Regions from separate parts of the Homo sapiens genome. Here region 2 is linked to region 1. Evidence: promoter capture Hi-C in 16 types of primary human blood cells and fetal thymus (Javierre and others, 2016). All regions are on one chromosome and are shown on one strand. The core of a region is centred on a gene start or on the middle of the fragment in contact, and the rest is flanking DNA. Distances in the headings are between cores, read along the strand shown.

Region 1 (3,635 bases), core at 517-3,016:
CTTCACCATCACCAATCCTTCCCCTGAAAAAACCATTGTGGACTGCCTGATGATAAGTTGGGAAGTGAGAGTGGGTAGGTGTGGAGCAAGAATAACAACATCCTGGGTACCGTACATTCTGAAGGAACAGAGGGAATTCCTGTTTTGTTTTAACCTGGGACAGAGGGGATTGGTTTGTTCTCTCCAGGCTGAGGCAGTAATTCCTGACTCTAGGGACTGCTGATATGGAAATTACTACTACCACTCTGGGTGGAGTCAGATGAGTATATTAAAGAGTCTCATTGTACTGTCCTAAAATAAGCAAGATCTTTGCTAATATCCAAGCTTTACAGAACGGTGGGATGAGGTGAAGGCCCTGTACCTTTATCCCCAGTGGTCTTCAGTACTATAGGAAGTAATGGGGCCTGTGTGGCACAGTGGAGGGCAATGAGTGAGCTGGTTATGCCAATTCCTACTATAGTCACCTCCTTGGCTGCCAGCCTTCAAGGGAGAGATCTTTGCCTTAGTGGGTTCTGCCCTTCTGCTTCTGAAGAGAACCTAGTCTTTCTGTATGGGCATTCAGGCAATTCTTGGGGTGGGGAGTTGGGGGAGAGAGAGCACTTGAAAAGAATTTATGGTGGCCTTTTTCTCAGTGATATTTGAGAAATACCAAGACACATCTGAATGTATCTGAGTTTAAGTCTTGGCTCTATTTGTTATTAGCTCTGTGACCGTGGGCAAGTTATTGATTTATATGCAATCTGACTAATCTGAGTTTTCTTAGCTGCTTTAAGCAGACAAAGAGGACAGGAAAGGGTAATACACTTAAGAACCAGCAAAGGGCTATTGTGAGGATGAAGCAATAACAACAAAATGGGTTTAAAGCACTTATCATAGTGCGTGGTCCATAGAACTGCAAACGTTGGATTTTGCTTATTTTAGGACAGTACAAAGAGACTCTTTAATATACTCTTCTGACTCCAGCCAGAGTGGTAGTAATTTCCATATCAGCAGTCCCTAGAATCAGGTATTACAGCCTCAGCCTGGAGAGAACAGGGCAATCCCCTCTATCCCAGGTGAAATGATTATTATCATTTATTATTTATTAGCCAGAGGTCTTAGGTGAGATCAAATTCAATCATTATAATTTATATTTCAATATACTGCTTAACTTCATGATAGGCAATGTTCTAGGTGCTCCTCACATGTGAAATTTTAATATTTTTACTGCAACTCTGGAGGTAAGTACTATTATTATACCAATTCTACAGATGAAAAAGCCAAGGAATAGCATGCTTGAATCACTTGCCCAAGATGCCATGTTTAGATAGTGGTACAGTGGGGATTCGAACGCGGGAGCTCAGGTTTCAAAGTCTGTGCTCTTTACATATGCAGCTAAAGAGTCAGACAAGAACCAAAAGGAGATGGAGAATAGAGGGTAGAAAGGGCACAGGTTCAAGGTGAAAGGTCAGAAACTGCAAATTCGGAGTTTGGGTTGGTCTAGCAGCTTAAAGGCGTCATCATGAACTGTTCACCTAAGTAAGTTAAGCTCCTGTTTGAGAATGACTGATAAGCTTGCAAGCCAACTTACAAACAAACTGGGGAAATGTTCCAATAGATGACTAAGTCTTTTAGGTCTTTTTACCTGTGTTTTTCGGTCTCTATACCAGATTAGTCGCCTGGCTCTCCCAAACAGACCGGCCAACTGACGTAGTCGCGAAACGGTTAATGTCGAGGCGGGGGCGGGGGAGGCGGAAATAAAGAGAGCGGAAGCAAAGAGGATTGTGGGAGCTCCGTTGTGCGTCGCTTAAGTGAGGGCGGCGGATGGGCGAAGGTCCGGTGACTGCGACTGTCGCTGCTTTCTGAGGCCACAGGAAAGGGGCCGTCGGTCGCCGCCATGACAGCGAGCGAGGCGGAGGTTTGTAGCACTTCTTATGGGCTGAGGGCGTAGACACATCCTGCTTCCAGCCTAGCAGGCAAACGGGAACGGAAGTGATAGGGGATCAGAAGTTGCGAGGGGATGAGGAGTAGGGGAAACTGACAAGCGGACGGACCCGGCGGCGAGAATTGATGGCGTAGCTGTAGGATTAAGGGGCGTGTCAACTGTGTTGTGTGTGTTGACACTGAGATGTGTGAATCCCCTCATTATTTTTAGCTGGGGACAGGCGGGGTCTATGGGGGAGGGGGCGGACGGATGAATGGAGGATAAAATCAGGGCGAAAACGTGTTGTCTGCTGGGCACCAGTACATCTGAGTCACATCTCAGCAGGATGATTTTATTGGAAAGATCTAGGTCCCTGGTTTCAGATTCTGCTATTGATGCGTTGATTGATTTCCCTTACCAAAATACCAAGTACCTGCTCTGTGCTGGGTACTGCACTAGAGGCTCCGGATGAGGAAAGGAATTAGGCTTTTTCCTCGACATTTACAGCCTGCCGGTTGCTATCTGCATTTGGAGACAGGCTATTACAATACAAGGAGACAGAGATAGATCCTGTGTTATGAAAATCTATTGGGTGCCACCGAACTCATCTGGGAGTTGAGATCTGGGACGGCTCTTTGATGCGGTGATTTAACATATATTTTGAAGACAAAATAAGCAGGGCAAAAACGAAGTGCAATTTTCCTCCAAGCACCTTCCCTCCCTGTTGAGGTGAACTGGAGAACTGAGTAGCATTTAAGGCCCAAAATTAGTGTATTTCTTTTTTTTTTTCTTTCTTTCTTTCTTTTTTTTTTTTTTGATAAGGAGTCTCTCTACTTCTGTCGCCCAGGCTGGAATGCAGTGGCGTGATCTCCGCTCACTGCAACCTCCGTCTGCCGGGTTCAAGTGATTCTCCTGCCTCAGCCTCCCGGGTTGCTGGGATTAGAGGCACCCACCACCACTCCCGGCTAATTTTTATATTTTTATATTTTTAGTAGAGACGGGGTTTTACCATGTTGGCCAGGTTGGCCTCGAACTCCTGACCTCAAGTGATCCGCCTGCCTCGGCCTCCCAAAGTGCTGGTATTACAGGCATGAGCCACCGCGCCCGGTCCCCACAACTAGTTTATTTCTGGTAAGAGCATTTGCCCATCACAATGGGACTTCCAGGCGCCTCTGGAAGAATCAGTCTTACGTGAGTGCAAAGCCTGCAAGCTCTGGGTAGGACTACGATGGAGGTGCTAGTTACTTGGTTTTCCAGCAAACTCGGTTCACAGCAGGGAATTGTGCACCCACCAGAAATCCTAAGCAATATTTCTCTGAACAAGAAAAGAAGCCTCTTTGTTTACCAGAGAAACAACAGTATAGCAGTCTAAGTCAGTGGCTCTCAAACTTTCCTGTGAATCAGAATCAGATGGAGCGTTTCTTAAAACCAAGATTGCTAGGTCCCATCCACAGAGTTGCCCCTACAGTTGGTCAGGAGTGGACCCCCGAATTTACATTTCTAACTAGTTCCCAGGAGATGCTGATACTCCTGGACATGGGGCCATACTTGGAGAACTATAGGTCTAAACGGAGCTGACAATAAATTGGAAAGAATATCTCCTGGAATCTCTTAGAACCCGGGAGGCAGAGGTTGCAGTGAGCCAAGATTGCGCCACTGCACTCCAGCCTGGGCAACAGAGTGAGACTCTGTCTCAAAAAAAAAAAAAGAATATCTCCCCTAGGGAAGGCTA
Region 2 (3,709 bases), core at 202-2,701, 220 kb after region 1:
AATGCAATCCTGTCATTTCTGGCAACATAGATGTGCTCAGAGGACATTATGTGAAGTGAAATGTGAAGTGAAATAATCCAGGCACAGAAAGGCAAATATCACATGTCCTCACTCATATGGGAGAGCTAAAAAAGTTGATCTCAAGGTGGTGGAGAGTAGAACTGTGGTTAACAGAGGCTGGGAAGGGTCCTGCAGAGGGGCGAATGAAGAGAGATTGGTTAATGGGTGCAAAAATAGAGTTAGAGAGAAGGAATAAGTTCTGCGTTCAATAGCACAACAGAGTGACCATAGTATTCAATTTATTGTGTATTTCAAAATAGCTAGAAGAGATTTGGAATGTTTCCCACACAAAGAAATGATAAATTTGAGCTGACGGATATCCCAATTACCTTGATTTGACCATTACATATTGTACGCATGTATCAAAATATCAAATGTACCCCAGAAACATATACAATTATTATGCATCAATAAAACGAATGAATTGTAAAAAAAAAAAAAAGAGAGAAAAAGAAAGAAAAGAAAACCCTGCAAACAACCAGAATGACCCTCAAACTTATCATGAATAAATTATGGTACAATGGTAAACTGTACAACAATAAAAATGGATCAACTACAGCTATCTGCAATATCGATGAGTATCACAAGCAATGTGGAGTGAAACAAGATAGTCACAATTCCAAGTTTATAAAGTATATAATGTTCAAACATCTGTAAAACAAAACTGTTGGTTAGGGATGCTTATAAGGAAGAAAACCTATAAACAAAAGCAAAGAAATGATTATCACAAAAGTCAGCATGGGGGCTAACCCTAAGATGGAAGAAGGGATATCATCATTGGCGGGGGGAGAGGAGTAGGTTATTAAAGGGCTCTATTTCTTGCCCGGGCTAGTTATTACATGGGTGATAGCTTTAAAAATGTTCTTTAAACTGGCAATTCTCGTCTGAGCGTATCTCTTTTCTTAAAGAAATAGAAAGCAAGGTCACTAGTTGGAAATGATGAGGGAGGGTATATTAAAAGATTTGAGGGAAGAAAGATGATATGAAAGAACCAGAGACATTGGAGAGTGAACAGACTAGAGAAATACAGTATTTTTATCCTATTATTTTATGAAAGCTTTTTATAGTTTCTGATTTATTATGCTTTTTCTCTCATATGCAACATTATTTTATATATAACTTTAATGTACTACACTATATGTCATTATCCCAGTAAAATTATAATGCTATTTAATGTTTAAAAATAAGTTGTAAAAGCAAAATTGTCTAAATAAACCATATAATGATTTGTCATAAAACATTAGTTATTTATTATTTCAACTTGAGCTCTAGAAAAGCTGATGTAGCTTATATTTAGACAAAAATATATATCATGCATATATTGTGTTTTGTGATGGCTTTTTATTCTTTTTCTTTTGACTTTTTATACCAAGTAGCTTTAGTGTTAAATTGTATATTTTATGTCTTTAAACAGATGTAGGTATTTATTACCTCCTTATTTTATTGATCTCAACTCCTAAAAGTCATTTTTTATATCAGAAAATATGCCCACATAAACATCACAAAACTAAATATTAATATTGACATTTGAAATTACTTGAAAACTACTACACCCTTAAATTTTGCTCAGAAGATTTAAGTGGAAAAAGTTGACAAGTCTGTATAATTTTACAGTATTGCCTAGGATTTTATATGAACCAATTTGTAAAACTCAATTATTTAAATTATAACATGCTTCAGTTGTAAATCCACGTTTATATTATAATTGAATAGCTTCAAGCTTTAAACATACATAAAGTTTTTATAAAGGCAAATATAGTAAATTTAAGCAATTATTAGCAACTTAGCTTTAAAATATGCTCTGAGGGGAAAACACACAAACTTTTTCCTTTGCTTTCACATCACGGCAATCAACAAAGAATATTTCCATGTTCAAATGTGTGGGGTTTTCCCACACACTAAGTGAGCAATCAGTTCTGCAGCAAACACCAGCTGGGTGTACTCCAATTCAATTCTGACACAAATCTACCTGGAGATAGCGTCATATCCCACAAGCTGAGGACTAGGTCTCACAAGACTGTTCCCAGGCCCTTCAGACACCAGTCGCAAATCCAGTCCTCCAGAACTTCTGACAGATGGGCTTCAAGTTTCGGTTCACATGACCCCCTCTTTGGGTTTGATTAATTTGTCAGAAAGGCTCACAGAACTCAGGGAAATACCTAACGTTGACCAGTTTATTATAAAGGATATTGCAAAGGATAGAGATGAAGAGATGCATAGGGTGAGGTACTGGGGAAGGGGCTCAGAGCTTCCATGCCCTCCTTGGGTCACCACCCTCCAGGAACCTCCATATATTCAGCTATCTGGAAGCTAACCAAACCCAGTTCCTTGGGGATTTTATGGAAGCTCCATTACATAGGTATGATTGATTAAATCATTGGCCACTGGTGATCGACTTAACCTTCCACCCCTCTCCCCTCCCTGGAGGTCGGGAATGAGGCTGTTAAGTCCCAACCCTCTAATGGCGCCTTGGTCTCTCTGGTGACTAGTTCCCATCCTGAAGCAACCAGAGGCTGCCAGCCATCAGTCAATTATTAGCATACAAAAAGATATCACTTTGGAAATTCTAAGGATTTTAAGAGTTGCATGCCAGGAAACAGGATCGAAGAGCAAATATATATTTCACAGTATCACATATACCATGTGACTTTTCATTTTATAATATTCTGCAATAACGGTTCCATTGTCATAGAGATAAAACACAGTCTTTTTTAAAAGAATTTGGATTTGCAAACATTGAATCGAGGAATACTGAAAATTGATGTATGCAATTCACAGTTCAGGGAAAAAATATCCTGTGTGTGTATAGACAGAGTGCACACTTAAATAATAAAGCAAATGGGGAGAAACATTAATAATAGGGGAATTAGGGTAAAGGGGACATGGGTGTTCTTTAAGCTTTATTTATGCTTGCAACATTTTTAAATGTTTGAAATTATTTTTAAATAAGAAGTTAAAATGAAGAAAGGGACATGGATGTACAGAGTGACATAAGTGGAAATCACCAGTGTAATTAGGAGATAAATGCATCTTTTTCCTTTCCTTATGCAGACTCTGTGTTCATACTTCCTTGAATCCACAAGTTGAGTACTGTTCCAACACATCCCGATTTGCAGATGTGGAAGCTCATTTTCAACTCTCCTGGACTAGCCATTTTCTGCCAACCTTGGTGACAAATGCTGTCTGACATCATACCTCCAACAACTGTGTCTTTAATTTCTGTGGCATTCAGTGAGAAGTTCTCACTGCTAGAACTACAACCTGGTAAGACAAATACAGGACAAATTTGGTTCAGTAAGGAGATGCAAGTGGAGGGCATTACTGAGATATCTGTAGGGGGAAACTATAACACATGTCATCTTGGAAATCCTCAAAATCCCAGAGTTGAAACAAATGGGACTGTTATATATTGTGAATCTGTTTGTGAAATTTCAGTTCCTGAACTGGTGCTAATAGCAAATATGCCATCAGTAACACAAACCCATCAAATGTTCCAGTTGAAAGTAATTTATTATTATTATTATTATTATTATTATTATTATTATTATTATCAACAGCATCATTATCATTAGCACAAAACTAAATCCACTATTAAAAGAAAATAAAAACACAGCTCCAAGGCATGTGTCTTACTGACAGTGAGTCAATA

What was found. The method cuts DNA at HindIII sites, captures the fragments that hold promoters and counts their contacts. A CHiCAGO score of 5 or more calls a contact.
Region 2: a fragment that was not itself captured here is called in contact with the fragment with the promoter of SLC25A53 in region 1 in 1 of 17 cell types (total B cells); the score reaches 5.9 in total B cells.

The regions. Positions count from the first base shown.
Region 1 is chrX:104,155,140-104,158,774 of GRCh38, reverse strand. It overlaps SLC25A53 (solute carrier family 25 member 53), which reads left to right and starts at 1,766. Exons shown (of 2, transcript NM_001012755.5): 1 at 1,766-1,897. It also overlaps a transcript of FAM199X not described here. RefSeq lists an enhancer at 1,693-1,992. The HindIII fragment of the contact is 6,927 bases long and covers 1,556-3,635 here.
Region 2 is chrX:103,930,628-103,934,336 of GRCh38, reverse strand. It overlaps a transcript of TMSB15B not described here. Among named protein-coding and RNA genes, the nearest start is that of TMSB15B-AS1, 13 kb to the right of the region's middle. The HindIII fragment of the contact is 663 bases long and covers 1,120-1,782 here.